Regions from separate parts of the Homo sapiens genome. Here region 1 is linked to region 2. Evidence: promoter capture Hi-C in 16 types of primary human blood cells and fetal thymus (Javierre and others, 2016). All regions are on one chromosome and are shown on one strand. The core of a region is centred on a gene start or on the middle of the fragment in contact, and the rest is flanking DNA. Distances in the headings are between cores, read along the strand shown. Region 1 overlaps ZNF664-RFLNA (ZNF664-RFLNA readthrough). Region 2 holds the start of PRKAB1 (protein kinase AMP-activated non-catalytic subunit beta 1).

Region 1 (7,075 bases), core at 3,793-6,292, 4.3 Mb after region 2:
TTTCTTGCCGAACTCTAACAACTAAATCTCCCCGGGAGCCTGCTCCGAACTGAACTGTTCTGGTTGCTAGATTGCTTACGGGCTGTCTTATTGCAACAAAGGAGACCAGATACCGAAAAAAGATTTCTGAGCTATTGCCTTCTTCAAGGAACGTTTTCTGATATTTACAGTTTATTGTTTTCACAGGCTGGAACGGTTTTTAGGCATTTTGGCTTCTTATTTAGAGAGGGCTCCTATTTCCTTCATAGACGCATAGTTTTTTAGAGCAGGAAATTGACCTTGTTCAACCCGCAGGTTAATTAAAAATTTAAAAATTAATTCTAAATTAGCAGAGTAGTACATTTTCTTTGTAAAAACAGCATATCACAGAGATGGCATTTTGTCTTTGACTATCAACCTCTGTCTTCAGGGATGCCGACTATTATGTGTGTGGTGTTTATCCTTCTAGATCTTTTGGAGTACTTTTACGTGTGTGCACTTAACATCATTTTTGACTGCTTTAACAAGGACTGTTGCACCGTAACTTTCAATGTTAGCATGTAATGCTTCAAGTCATTTTTTAACAACTGCTGCACCATGTTCCATAGTTTCAGTATATCATGGTTTAGCCATTTCCCAAATTGATAGCAGTTTAAGTTTTAACTTTAAAACAGCTTTTTTGCTGGTGGTGGTTCTCTGATGAGATGAAATTTCGGTGATAGGAGCACAGATCTACGCTAATTATCGAGATTCGGCATTTATGATGAAGTTCTCTTTTGGTTAAGAAATTGATATGTGGAAGCAGCCACCCCTCCCCTATGGTAGTTCTGACTCTAGCAGTTAGAAGTTGTGTGACCTTGGGGAGGACATTGAATCACACCAAACCTCGGTTTTCTTTTCTGTAAATGGCCTGCTCTGTCTGCTCCATAGAGTTCAGTGATACAGTGCGTATGTGTTGTGGAATGTAAAGTAGTATATATAAAGGTTGGTTTTATTAGCCTTTGTGATCCAAAAATTATTTGCAATATCATTTATATTTTTTGACCAGATGTGTGTGTATCATATCACAGAGCACTACAGATAGTCAACTTTGAATGCTTTTTAATTTGTGACTTTTTAAATTAATTTTTATCAAGTACTGACAATACATTAGTCTTCTTAACAATATTTTGCAAAGCATTTTTTCCTAGGGCTTTCTTTTCTTCCTCTTCATTAAAAAAAAAAAAAAAGAGAGAGAGATAGGGTCTCTTTCTGTTGCCGTGGCTGGAGTGTAGTGGCATGATTCTAGTTCACTGCAGCCTGGGACTCCTGGGCTCAAGTGATCCTTGTGCCTCAGCCTCCCCAGTAGTTAGGAATGACTACAACCATGTGCCACCACACCTGGCTGATTTATTTTATTTTTGTAATGACAGGCTCTTACTATCTTGCCCCAACTGGTCTCAAACTCCTGGCCTAAAGCAGTCCTCCCAAAGTGTTGGGATTACAGGTGTGAGCCACTGTGCCCAGCCCCTAGTGGTTTTACATACCTTAAAAAATAAGGCATATAAATTAGTTGACTGTGAATAAACATATTAGCAAACTGAACACTAGACAATACTCGCACTATAATATTTAAGCTTATTTCCTTAGAGTTGTAAGTTGTACATGTATTTTTCTGTGGCAGCAGCAGATTCAGATTAGCTTTTATGTCCTTCAGGGAAAAGGGATTGTTACTAAATTTGCAGGCTGCATCAGAGTTTTAATATTGAGATTTAATATTTTAATCATTTGAATAATGATTGAATGATGTGATGGGTAACATTTTAAGATGTATGAGATACGATTAGGGGCTTTTTATGTATTTTTCTTTCTTTCAGATATATATGAGTGCCTGTAGTGTGGCCAGCAAAATCAACTTATTTTGTTCTCTTGAAGCTTATGATTTGTGAGGGGGATTGGAATTTAAACACAATCACAACTACACGTATGATCACAAACTGGTATCTGCTGTGAAAGTTAAGAAGCACCTGCTATGAGGGAGTATAAAAAAGGGGAGACCAAATTTTAGAGTGGAGAGAAGGGGCCTAGGAAAGACTTTTCTGTATAAATAAGATTTAAGCTGAGATTTGAAGAGTGCGTAGGTGTTAGTGTGGAGGAAAGTGGGGGATAATTTTCCAGGCAGAGGAACAGCATGTGGGAAGGCCTCAAAGTGGGGAAAAAGCTTTGCCCATTCCAGGAACTGAAAGAATGAATGTGGATAGACTATGGAGGTGAAGGGGAAGAGTGGCTAGGCCAGGGGCCAGATCAAGTAGGGTCATGTAGGGCAGGTTAAAGTGGTTGTATTTTATCCCGAGTGAAATGGGAAACCATGATATGGGTTGGGATTTACGAAGAGGAGTGACATAATCAGATTTGTATCTTTAAACAGCCACTCTAGTCGTTGCATGCAAGATGTGGGGGCGTGTTGGGGGTGGAGAGTAGAAGTGGGGAGACCAGGTTGGCCATCTCAGAGGGCTGCCTGGAAGAGACGTGAGCTTTCCCTTGGAATTCACATTGACCTCACGTTACCAGCTACACTAAGGTCAAATCAATGTTTGATTAAAAAAAAAAAAGATCCTGGCCATGCACAGTGGCTCACACCTGTAATCCCAGCACTTTGGGAGGCAGGTGGATCATGAGGTCAGGAGACCGAGACCATCCTGGCTAACACGGTGAAACCCTGTCTCTACTAAAAATACAAAAAATTAGCTGGGCGTGGTGGCAGGCACCCGTATTCCCAGCTACTCGGGAGGCTGAGGCAGGAGAATGGCGTGAACCCGGGAGGTGGAGCTTGCAGTGAGCGGAGATCATGCCACTGCACTCCAGCCTGGGCAACAGAGGGAGACTGTCTCACAAAACAAACAAAACCCCCACAAATCCTTGTTTCTAATTTTTAAGAAGTGGGGATAAATAAAAGCAATAAAAAGGTACTTGGTATGCAAAAAGTACACATAAATGTTAAACTAGTTGTCTATACTTAAAAGTATCAGAGAGTCAAATTAAAAATTGGGACATTATTTAACAAGGTTTGTATGTTTTGACAAAGCGGTAATATGTGAGATAGGAGTGAAGTGAGGCTCTAAAATGAAGGGAAATATTTGTAGATGCTATTGACTATGAAAACAATAACAAAAATTATTAGACAAAAAAATTGATGGAGTGACCATGTATTAGTATATGTATAAAATTAATAGCTTTCTGAATACCAGAAATAACCTACTAGAACCTAAAATGGCCAAAAAAAAAAAAAAAAAACCCTAAACAAGAAACTGGCTCTGACCAGGTTGCAGCAAAACAAGTGAACCGTGTAGGCACAACCTTATAGAGTCAAGTGTGCACTCTGTGGAGGAGACCATAAAGTATCCTGAAAGGTCTGAAGGGGTACCTTGAACGGAAAGAGAGGCCATCTTCCGGGCTGTGATGTCTGCATGTTATGGAGATGCTCATTTTGGGGTGAACGTGGTAGAATACTTATGAGTAATGAGGTGAGACAAATATATTTAAACATATTATAGAGCCACATTCATTAAAACAGTATCGTTCTGGCTGTAAAATATCCATACAGGTCAATGGAACTTATTCAGCACCCCAGAAATAAACTTTTTTATATGGAAATGTCATAAATAATAATGAAATCATCACAAATGCCCCCTGAGTCTAAAGAAAATGTAAGTAAATATTAAACATCTGGAAAGAGGAGTTTTACATGCTAAGGTGGATGGAGCACATGCTTTAGACTCAGATGTGTCTAAACTGGAATCTTTTAAGTGAGGAAAATTATCCCCACTTTGCAGGTGTTATGAGAGTAAGAGATAAAGGGCCAGGCACCTACAGGGCACTCAAATCTGTAAGTAGCTGCTGCTATTAGAAACAATAGAGAAAATAATAATTAAAAATTAGTGTATTAGACTACATAAAAATTTATTCTTTAGGAAGAGAAGGGAAAAAAAAAACCCGAATCATAAAGTGGAAAATATTTGTGGCAAATGATAAGCTAAGAGTTAGTATTTTCAATATGCAAAGAACTCATCCAAATTGGTGAAGAAAATAATGAAGATCCACACACAGGTGGTTATAGGATGTGAATAGACAGTTCGCTGGATAGAAATATAACTTGTGAAACATTGGAAAAGCTGTGTAATTCATTAATAATCAAATCACTAATTACCGTATAGAAAAGTTAGATTCTGTTCTGAATAGCAGCAAAACTAGAAAACATTTACAAGTAAGACATAAATGTACCAAAGCTTTATGAAGAGAAGTAAAAACTTTTACCTAAATGATTTAAAAGCTAACCTAAATAAATGGGCAGACTTGTTCCTGGAGGGGAAGGCATCATTGTAGATTGCAGTACCTCCAAATTAAACTATGATTTCAATGTAATTACAATTGAAATCCCAGTGGGAATTCTTCTGGACACTAGATAAATTGCTTCTAAAACTCTTTTATAGGAGTAAATGTCCTAGAATGGCCAAAAAATGACAAACGTTTTTAATGGAAAAGTAGTGTTGGGGGATTTGCTATATGAGAAGTCAAAGCATACTGAAATGCTGCAGTAATATAAATGGTGAACACAAGAATAGACAGATTGACGCCTGGAGCAAAGTAGAATCCAGTAACAGACCCATTTTTATATCAGAATTTAGTATATGATAAAGTTGGTGTTTTGCAACAGTTGGGAAATTATAATTCAGTGTGTTGTATAGGGATAAGTGGCTCTTTATTTAGAAAGAAAGATCCTACTTCACATTCAAAATAACTTAGATGGATTAAGGAACTAACTAAAAAAACCTATAAAAGCATTAGAAGGAAATATAAGAGAATTTGTTATGTAGAAGGATACACTGGAAATGATGTGTTTTAGGTAGGCCATTTAGGTAAGACCAAGACCTAAAATCATAAATGAAAGGATTGATAAATTTGACTATAATCACAGTTGATAATTCTGTGACAAAAAGCGTTACAGAGTGACAGACTGGGAAAACAACCTGTAGCATGTATAAAGAATAAATAGAATTAACAAATTAGGTAATGAATTGAGGATATGAATAGTTCTTAGATAAATGTGTTCAAACAGTGAAGAGAAATTCAACCTCATTGTGATTAAGAGAATGGAAATTTAAAAACTAGATTTTTTTGTTGGGAGGAGGGCATCAGGCAAAAATTAAAAACTATCCAGCGATGTAAAAGAGGCACCTAATACATTGTTGGGACATAAAATTTTTCCAAGTTTTTAGATGGCAATTTTGGCAGAATTTTATCAAAATAAAAGTACACGTTGATTTAGCAGCTACACTTCAAGGAATCTGTGCTATTTTCATAGGAGAACATACGTTAATATAAACAATGTCTATTGCAGCGTCATTTATAATGAAAAATTGAAGATAATCACAATAAATTTTGGTACCCATATACTGTGGAATATCAAGTAGCGTTTTGTTTTTTGTGGGATTTTTTGTTTGTTTTGTTTTGAGACAGGGTCTTGCTCTGTTGCCTAGGCTGGAGTGCAGTGGTACGGAATGTGGTTCAGTGTAGCCTCAGCCTCCTGGGCTCAAGTGATCTGCCTCAGCCTCTCAAGTAGCTGGGACCACACACACACACACACACCACTACACCTGGCTGATTTTTAAATTTTTTTTGTAGAGACGGAGTCTCACCACGTTACCCAGGCCAGTCTTGAACTCCTGGCCTCAAGTGATCCTCCCGCCTTGGCCTCCCAAAGTGTTGGGATTACAGGCATGAGCCACCATGTCTAGCCTATTAGTTTTTTATATAGAGAGGTAGATTTGTATGTACTGACATAGCCTGTATGGATGTCTAGAATATACTGTTGAGCCAAAAAAGCAAGCTTAATCTCATTTTTTGTAAGATACAAAACAAAATAATGAAGGGTGAGTGTGTGTATATATATATATTCTGAATAAGAATTAGAAAAAGACTAGAATACCTGAAAACATTTAATTCTGATTACTTCATGGGAAAAGCCTAGGGGAGACTGGTTTTTCATATCACATGTGTTTGCATTGCTTCAGTTTTTTTTACAATGGGCATTTACTTTTGTAAGGAAGATGTTACAATTTCTCACCAATTTCATGAAGGTCTAGATTTAGACAAAAATATACAGTGCCTAGTACCTAAAAGGATGTGGTAAAAATGACACACTCTTATGTTACATTGGCCATATGTGTCAAGAGTCTTAAAATTATTTACATTTCTTGATGGTCTAGGAACCATCAAAAGAATATTTTTAAATACAGAGAAAAGCTTTCTGCACAAAATATGTATATTGTAGAATTATATTTATGGGCACAGTTTGCAGAATGGTTATGATACATCCCCTATATCATATATTTAGTGGCAAATAACATTGCCATTAAAAACGTTTATGAAGAAAATATATTAAAATGCTTATGATAGTGTTAAGTGGAAGGAAATCAGGATACACAATTGTATACCTGATATGATGAAAACGCCCCAAAAAAAGTCCCAGCAGCCTTCCAGTAAAACCTATGAATGGCAAAAATATGTAGAAGAAATTAGATGGAAATCTTAAGAATTGTGGAATTCGGTAGGATGTCGGGTGATTTAAATAATCTTTTTTGTATTTGCCAAGATTACATGTACCTGTATTACATGTATGATGGAACATTTGATTTAACAAAGTATATCTGGGACATGATAGCTACATGGCAAATAGACATGAGCACTTTTTTTTTTGGTTAAAGCCAATGAATAAATTTGGAATTTACACTGAAAATGATTGGGACCCATTGAAAACTTGTGAGTAGGGTAAGAACAATCCATTTTGCATTTTAGAAGGTTACATTAGAGTAGATAATGGATTAGAGGGAAGCAAGACTGGAGGCTTTTGTAGAATTCCAGGGAAGATGATGGTGGCTTGAGTTAAGTTGAGACAATGCAGGTACACAGTGGAGAGTTTCCAGAGGTATTTGGAAGAGAGTGGCTAGACCTTTGTGATGGGGGGAAGTCAATGATATTGACTTGGGCAATTGAGGGGAGAGTGGACTCATTTACTATAGTTGGGAATTGGCTATGGTTTGAATATTTGTCCCCTCCA
Region 2 (7,039 bases), core at 3,173-5,672:
CCCTAAAAGTAAGCTTGTAATTCTATCCTAGCAGCCCACACACATTTGAGTCTGTCTTAGTCAGCTCAGACTGCTATAACAAATCATCAACTGGGTGGCTTAAACAACAGAGATTTACTTCTCCCAGGTCCGAAAGCTGGAAGTCTAATATCAGTGATATAATTTGGATACTTTTCCCCCTAAATCTTACACTGAAATGTAATCCCATGTTGGAGGTGAGGCCTCCAACATGGTGGGAGGTGACTGCATCATGGAGGTGGACTTCTCATGAATAGTGTAGCACCATCGTCTTGGTGCTGCCCTCACAAGATCTGGTTGTTTAAAAGCGTGCGGCACCTCCTCCCACTTTTTTTCTTACTCCCACTCTTGCCATGTGATACATCAATACATCGGCTCCCCCTTGGCTTCCTGAGGCCTCACCAGAAGCAAGCAGATACCCAGAGCCATGCTTGCTGTACAGCCTACAGAACCATAAGCCAAGTAAACCTCTTTTCTTTATAACTTACTCAACCTCAAATATTTCTTTATAGCAATACAAGAATGGCCTAATACAATCAGGGTGCCAGGATGGTTGATGTGTGGTGAGGGCTCTTTCCCTGAGTTGCAGATGGCCGCCTTCTTGCTTTGTCATCACATGGCCTTTCCATTGAGCATGGGCGTGAATAGACAGCATGCGAGCAAGCTCTCCAGCGTCTCTTCTTCCCATAAGTACCCTGATCTCATCATGGGGGCCCCACTCTCATGAGCTCATCTAACCCTAATTACCCCTTGAAGGCCCCACCTCCAAACATTATAAAATTGGGAGTGGGAGTGCAAATGTATGAATTTTGGGGGGATACAATTTAGTCTACAGCATAGTCCAAATGTGAAATTTCTTCCTCCAGCTACCGATGTTTAGTGAGAACACTGCCTGTTCTCACCACATGTGCATATGTGTGTGGACTCTTTCCTCTGGAGGGCAAGAACTTGGTTTTGTTCACTGTTGTAACCAAGAGTTACAACAGTGCCTGGCTCATAATTGGCACTCAATATTGCCATTGAGTTATTTGTGATCAGAGCCCTGGCTGTTCTTAGATGGGGAGGGTTCTTCAGAACAGTACAAATGTTTGTAGACAGGCCAGCTGGGGAACCAAAGGTCTTTTTGATGAGGTGCCATGACCATGATGTAGTGGGGAGTGGCCAGGTGATCCAGAATTCAGTCTCAGTATGACCTATGATCATCTGAGTGACCTCAGGCAAAACTGTTCGATCTCTGGGACTTAGACTCTTCCTTATATAAAACAAATGGGTTGGTCAGTTCAGAAGTGCTATACTGATTCTAATCCATCCTATGGAGGAGGCCCCAAAACATTATCCTTAACCCTTTTAATCATAAATTTAAGGATAAATGAGATTTTATCTCACTCTGGGTGACTTTTAAGGACTTGAAAACCTACTTCTTTTTGTGCTTGGAGCTGGAGTGAATTTGAAGCCAGGGTTGCGGGGGTGGGGGAGGGGTACTCCTAGCTGTGGCTGTGTTAAAATTGCCCTGGTTTGTTTGGGGGAGAATCTAGGGTATTTATCATTTGTCTTTGCCCTGGTGCCAGACAGACAGCAGTGAGTAGATGATGCCTTTTACACAGCAATGTGCTAACAGTTATACTTCCTGGCACACCTCCAGCCCCCAAGATGGAATGGTCTGACATCCATATCAGCAGAGAATCAGAGAAAGATGAGACGCTCTGATGCTTAGGAAAGTCACAAACCATTGTTACACAGATAAGTAACACAAAATGACCCAAGAGAGACACAGCTGGGACCCAAGTAGACACTTGTAATTGGCGAGTCTACCCTACCCATGATTTTCAATATGGGGTCAATAGCTGATAGATACCAATGTTAGTTTCTTTGTCATGAAATCTTGATACAATGTGGTAAGAGTTTCCAATCAGCAGTTGGTGGCATCCTCAGGATATTGTTGATTGTATTTGACATCAAGGGCCACCCATGCTTTCACTGTTATCTTATTCAAGCTAGTGCAGATGTCTTAAAACTTTCTTCATGCATCAAAGCATCTGCATAGCTCAGATAAAGAATCCACAGCTCATGTGTTCTTTCTTATCTCTCCGGCTGTTTGGGAGAGATTTCAAAACTCAACACCCCACTGTCTCATGTAACCAAGTCAGGGCCACTATTAGAAAAGCAGCTCAAAGAAGATATCCTGGGTCATCCACAGTATCTTAGCTTATTTAATTCAGCAAGCACATTCAACATTTCTGATTATACTGAATACATTCAAATTCTCAGTCATCAGCTTCAGGAAGACCCTCCTGGCTCCCATCCCTTTTCCTGGCTCCCATCCCTTTTCCTGGCCTGGCTTAAGTCCCTTCTGGGCTCCCACAGGATCCCTTACCTAGCTATATTATTGCTTTTCTGTGGGTCGGTGCCAGCCTGTACTGTATTAATTCCTTTGGGGCTGGAACCATATCTTATTTTTTTAAATTAAAAAGTAGTACATCCTCACAATAGAAAACTTTTCAAATACAGAACTATATAAATGAAAAGTGAAAGTCCCTTTTCTGTCTGCTCCTATTTGCAATCTCCCTCCTCTCCCCACAGAAGACCACTATTAACAATGTGTTGTATACCCTTCCAGAACTTTCCATTTGCTAGCCTAATAGTGCTAATAAAAGTGTTAACAGTTATTGAGTGTTTACTAAGAGTCAAGTGCTATGCTCAGCATTTTTATGCACGTTCCCAATTAATTCACAAAACAAGCCTATGAAGTAGGTGTTATTTTTGTTCCCATTTCACAAAAGAAGAGACTAAGGTGACAGTTACTAAATGGTAAAGCCAGAATCTGAACATGGCCAGGCTGAATTCAGAGCTCCTGCCCTTGAACTTGTTCTCTCACTTGCTTCCGGACCTTGCAATATCATAGACACTTCCCCATAGTGACCTAAAAATGGTTTCTCCCTTTTTAAAAGTTGCTTGGTATTCTACAAAATGAATGTATTCCATTCATTTTGCCATTCTCCTACTGAACAACTTTTAGGATTTTGTAGTTTTTCATTTCCTTATTTCACCAAGTGTAAGATTCCATTATTGTAAAAAGCATCCAGTTTCAGAAATTAAAATATATGGGGGCATGGGGGGTGACAAGTGCATCTTAGAATATATTTTTGCATGTAAATATTTTGTAGATAATGCTTGTAAATAATTTTCATGTGTGTATTTCTGCACAAGTTTCCTAGGAGTAAAATTGTGTGTCAAAATGAAGGTGCATTTTTAAATTTTGATGCATACTGCTGAATTCCCCCCAGGAAACCTTATCTTAGTCATCTTGTGTTCCTCATTTCCTTAGCACAATGTCTGGTACTTTTTTAGGTACTAAATAAATGTTCAGTGGGTGAAATGCATGACCTGACCCGGCAAATGCAAAGTATTTTGAGATATTCACACACCAAAAAACCCACAAAATATGACAATGACTGACAATGAGAAGATGAGAATATTTTACTACCGTATTTGTATGCACTTCTTGTTGAAGCACTGACCAGAGTAAATGACAAACGCTAATGCATCTTATGCAGAAGGATGTTTCCGAAGTGATTACAAGATATCTTGCAAAATTACCTATCAAAAGATTGCACACTCAATAAAAATACACGAATAACTCCAGCATTTTACAACCCCCAACCTACTAGACATAAGAAATTTCCAGAGATCTTATGGTCTGCCATTTTTTCAAATACCTGCAAGACTGCCTGCACCCCCGACCCTAATCTGTAGAAATCATGATTCTGCAGGTCTGCAGTGGGGGATGCATTTAACAAGCGCTCCAGGTTAACCTAATGCACTGTAAAGCGTGAGAACACGTGCATTAAAAGGGCTTTAAGAAGTGGAGTTTCTGAATCAGATTTGCATTTTAGAAAGATCCCTCTGGCTGCAGAGTGTAGAATCAACTATAAGTGAGCAAAGATAGCTAAATGGCATTATTCAGCCCAGCGCATGAACGGCTCAGATTGCCCGCGCGCTGGGGTGCCCCCTGCCGGCCCTCGGCAGCGCCTCGTCCTGGGCCTGGCCCTGGGCGGCCGGCTGCTGACTGCGACTGCGCGCTCCGAGGCCTGCAGAGACGGCCCGGGGCACCTGTTACCGCACCGCTCAAGACCGGAAGCGGAAATGGAATCGAGATAGCCTCGCGCGTTTAGCTGGCCGCCGCCACCTCCACGCCCTAGGCCGGGCCGACTTACGGAGTCGCCGGAAGCGGAAGTCGCTGAGGGGTGGTGAAGCGGTTGGGAAAGTGTCGGTTTATCTTCGCGCCCCTTGCGTTCTTGCCGCGGCTTGCCTGGGCAGGTAAAGCGCGATTGCGAGAGCTCGGCAACCCTGCCGACTCAGCCGGAACCGGCTCCCGGCCCGAGGGGCGTGGTGTCCTGGTGCTCCGACTCCTTCCGCAGGCTCCTTGGGACCCGCGGTTCCGGGAGTCCCTTGCTCAGGGTCCCTTTCCTGCAGTGAGGCGCCGTCCGCCTTCCCTGTGTCCCCGCAGACCCCCATCATGGGCAATACCAGCAGTGAGCGCGCCGCGCTGGAGCGGCATGGTGGCCATAAGACGCCCCGGAGGGACAGCTCGGGGGGCACCAAGGACGGGGACAGGCCCAAGATCCTGATGGACAGCCCCGAAGACGCCGACCTCTTCCACTCCGAGGAAATCAAGGTGCGAGCGGTGTGGAGGAACCCGATTCCCCTTGACTAATGTTGAGGAGAGGAACCCTCCACTAGATTCCCGTCACATCCTTTCGAAAAACACCAGAACGGAGAGGGAGGTGGTACATTACCCGGTGCACTTAAAAGCCAGATGGTCCTGTAAGAGTTCTCTTAGCGGTCCAAGAACCTGTGTCTAATTACCAATATGAGAAAGTCACCCTGAGGGAGGAGGTGCTCACTTGGTTTAACATCATTAAGGAGAAAGCAGCTCTGGGACAGAGTTTCAAATTCTTAATTAATTCAGAGTCGAGCTAACAGTAATTGAGCCCCAGCTTCTGCTTTTCTCTTAGGTGTAATTAATTGCACTGCTTTGAGACAAATTCCCTCACCTTTACACAAACTGGAGCTTTTGTAAAAGTTAGTTTGGGAATTTATCCATTTTGGAGGCAAACCAGGTACATATACAAGCTGAAAGTAGAGCGGAACAGCTGACGGCAGTTGCCAGAGGTGTTTAGTTCTGCCCAACACTTTTGATTCACCCTACTTATTTTTTAAAAGACGGTGGTCTCACTAATTAGCCGGGCGTGGTGGCGGGCGCCTGTGGTCCCAGCTACTCGGGAGGCTGAGGCAGGAGAATGGCGTGAACCCGGGAGGCGCAGCTTGCAGTGAGCCGAGGTCGCGCCACTGCACTCCAGCCTGGGCGACAGAGCTAGACTTCGTCTCAAAAAAAAAATATAAATAAAAATAAAAAAGACGGTGGTCTCACAATGTTCTCCAGGCTGGTCTCGAACTCCCGGGTTCAAGCAATCTTTATGCCTTGGCCTCCCAAAGTGCTGGGATCGCAGGCGTGAGCTACGGTGCTGGCCGGTTCAGCCTACTTTTTTTTTTTTTTGAGACCGAGTCTCGCTCTGTCGCCCAGGCTGGAGTGCAGTGGCGCGATCTCGGCTCACTGCAAGCTCCGCCTCCTAGGTTCACGCCATTCTCCTGCCTCAGCCTCCCGAGTAGCTGGGACGACAGGCACCCGCCACCACGCCCGGCTAATTTTTTATATTTTTAGTAGAGACGGGGTTTCACCGTGTTAGCCAGGATGGTCTCCATCTCCTGACCTCAGGAGATCCGCCTGCCTCGGCCTCCCAAAGTGCTGGGATTACAGGCGTGAGCCACTGAACCCACCCTACTTATTTTTTTTTTTTCCTTCTTTGAGATGGAGTCTCACTCTGTTGCCCAGGCTGGAGGGCAGTAGCACAATCTCGGGGCACTGCAACCTTCGTCTCCCGGACTCAAACCATCCTGCCTCAGCCTCCCGAGTAGCTGGGACTACAGGCGTGTGCCACCATGCCTGGCTAATTTTGTGTATTTTTGGTAGAGGTGGGGTTTCGCCATGTTGCCCAGGTTGGTCTTGAACTCCTGACCTCAAGTGATCCGCCCGCCTGGGCCGCCCAAAGTGCTGCGATTACAGGCATGAGCCACCACTCCCGGCCTCACCCTGCTTTTTTTTAAAGCGTACATAGAAAAGTCTTTCAGCTTCTAGAGGTCAGTGGGCGGTGAGGGTCTGTCTGAAGGAGGCAGCCAGCAGCTACTGAACTTCTCTCTAGTGTTGTTTAAATATGACTTAATCGTGCTTAAGCAGGCCAGTGCAAACATTTTTCTTCCTGCTGCAGCCTGTTTAAATTCAAAAACTCAGGTGACTTAACTCCTGCTTCAACCACACTCCTGTTAACCACCTTCATATGGTGGATATTTCCAGCCGCAGGGCTCAGTCCAAGGACACTTAGTGATTCTGGCAGCTGGTATTTATGTGTTATGTCCAAAAGGAACTAATTGTTTCAAGGAACAAAGTAGGTTTAGGAAAGATAAAGCTGCCCTCTGCCCAACATACCCTGTTAGTATCCAATTTCATGTTAATCATCATCCATTTAATTGCTTGGCAGCTCATTCCATCTGTGTTTGTCCTCATGTTGAGCGAGGTGATCACATCTCACACCTTCTTTTGGATCTTAGTTTTGAGCCTGACTACAAAGAGGCTGCTTTTATGTGGCCCTACAACCTGTGGTTTGAACTTGCTCTCTGAATTTGTTGCATTCTTGAAGAGCTGTGTGCAAAGTGAACTTTAGAATCATGTTTCTCTAATGACTTGACGTCCTTTCCCCAGGAGGTAATTTTGGTCCCTGGTCCCAAGAAGGCTATTTAAGACACCAAAGGAATCAAAACTACTTTCTTCAGAAGTATTTGTTCTGTTACTATTCCAAAACTCCTCCAGGAAATGTTGAGCACACACATCATCTATGGGGAATGATTTCAAGCAGCGTCCATTCTCACTTCATTAGAAGTTACTGAAATCCCCAGATACCAAAAA

The links. Contacts are between HindIII fragments. The CHiCAGO score rates a contact against its expected background, and 5 or more counts as called.
Region 1: a contact is called between a fragment that was not itself captured here and the fragment with the promoter of PRKAB1 in region 2, in 1 of 17 cell types (total B cells). The highest score is 5.3, in total B cells.

Annotation. Positions count from the first base shown.
Region 1 is chr12:123,974,229-123,981,303 of GRCh38, forward strand. The region is part of intron 2 of ZNF664-RFLNA (ZNF664-RFLNA readthrough); the gene reads left to right. The region is part of intron 2 of ZNF664 (zinc finger protein 664); the gene reads left to right. Among named protein-coding and RNA genes, the nearest start is that of ZNF664-RFLNA, 4.6 kb to the left of the region's middle. The HindIII fragment of the contact is 1,601 bases long and covers 4,243-5,843 here.
Region 2 is chr12:119,663,711-119,670,749 of GRCh38, forward strand. It overlaps PRKAB1 (protein kinase AMP-activated non-catalytic subunit beta 1), which reads left to right and starts at 4,423. Exons shown (of 7, transcript NM_006253.5): 1 at 4,423-4,693. The coding sequence starts at 4,535. It overlaps PRKAB1-AS1 (PRKAB1, TMEM233 and CCDC60 antisense RNA 1), which reads right to left and starts at 4,417. Exons shown (of 3, transcript NR_188494.1): 1 at 4,233-4,417. RefSeq lists enhancers at 1,991-2,135, 4,270-4,679, 5,118-5,753, a cis regulatory region at 2,055-2,072 and a silencer at 3,900-4,169. The HindIII fragment of the contact is 11,826 bases long and covers 12-7,039 here.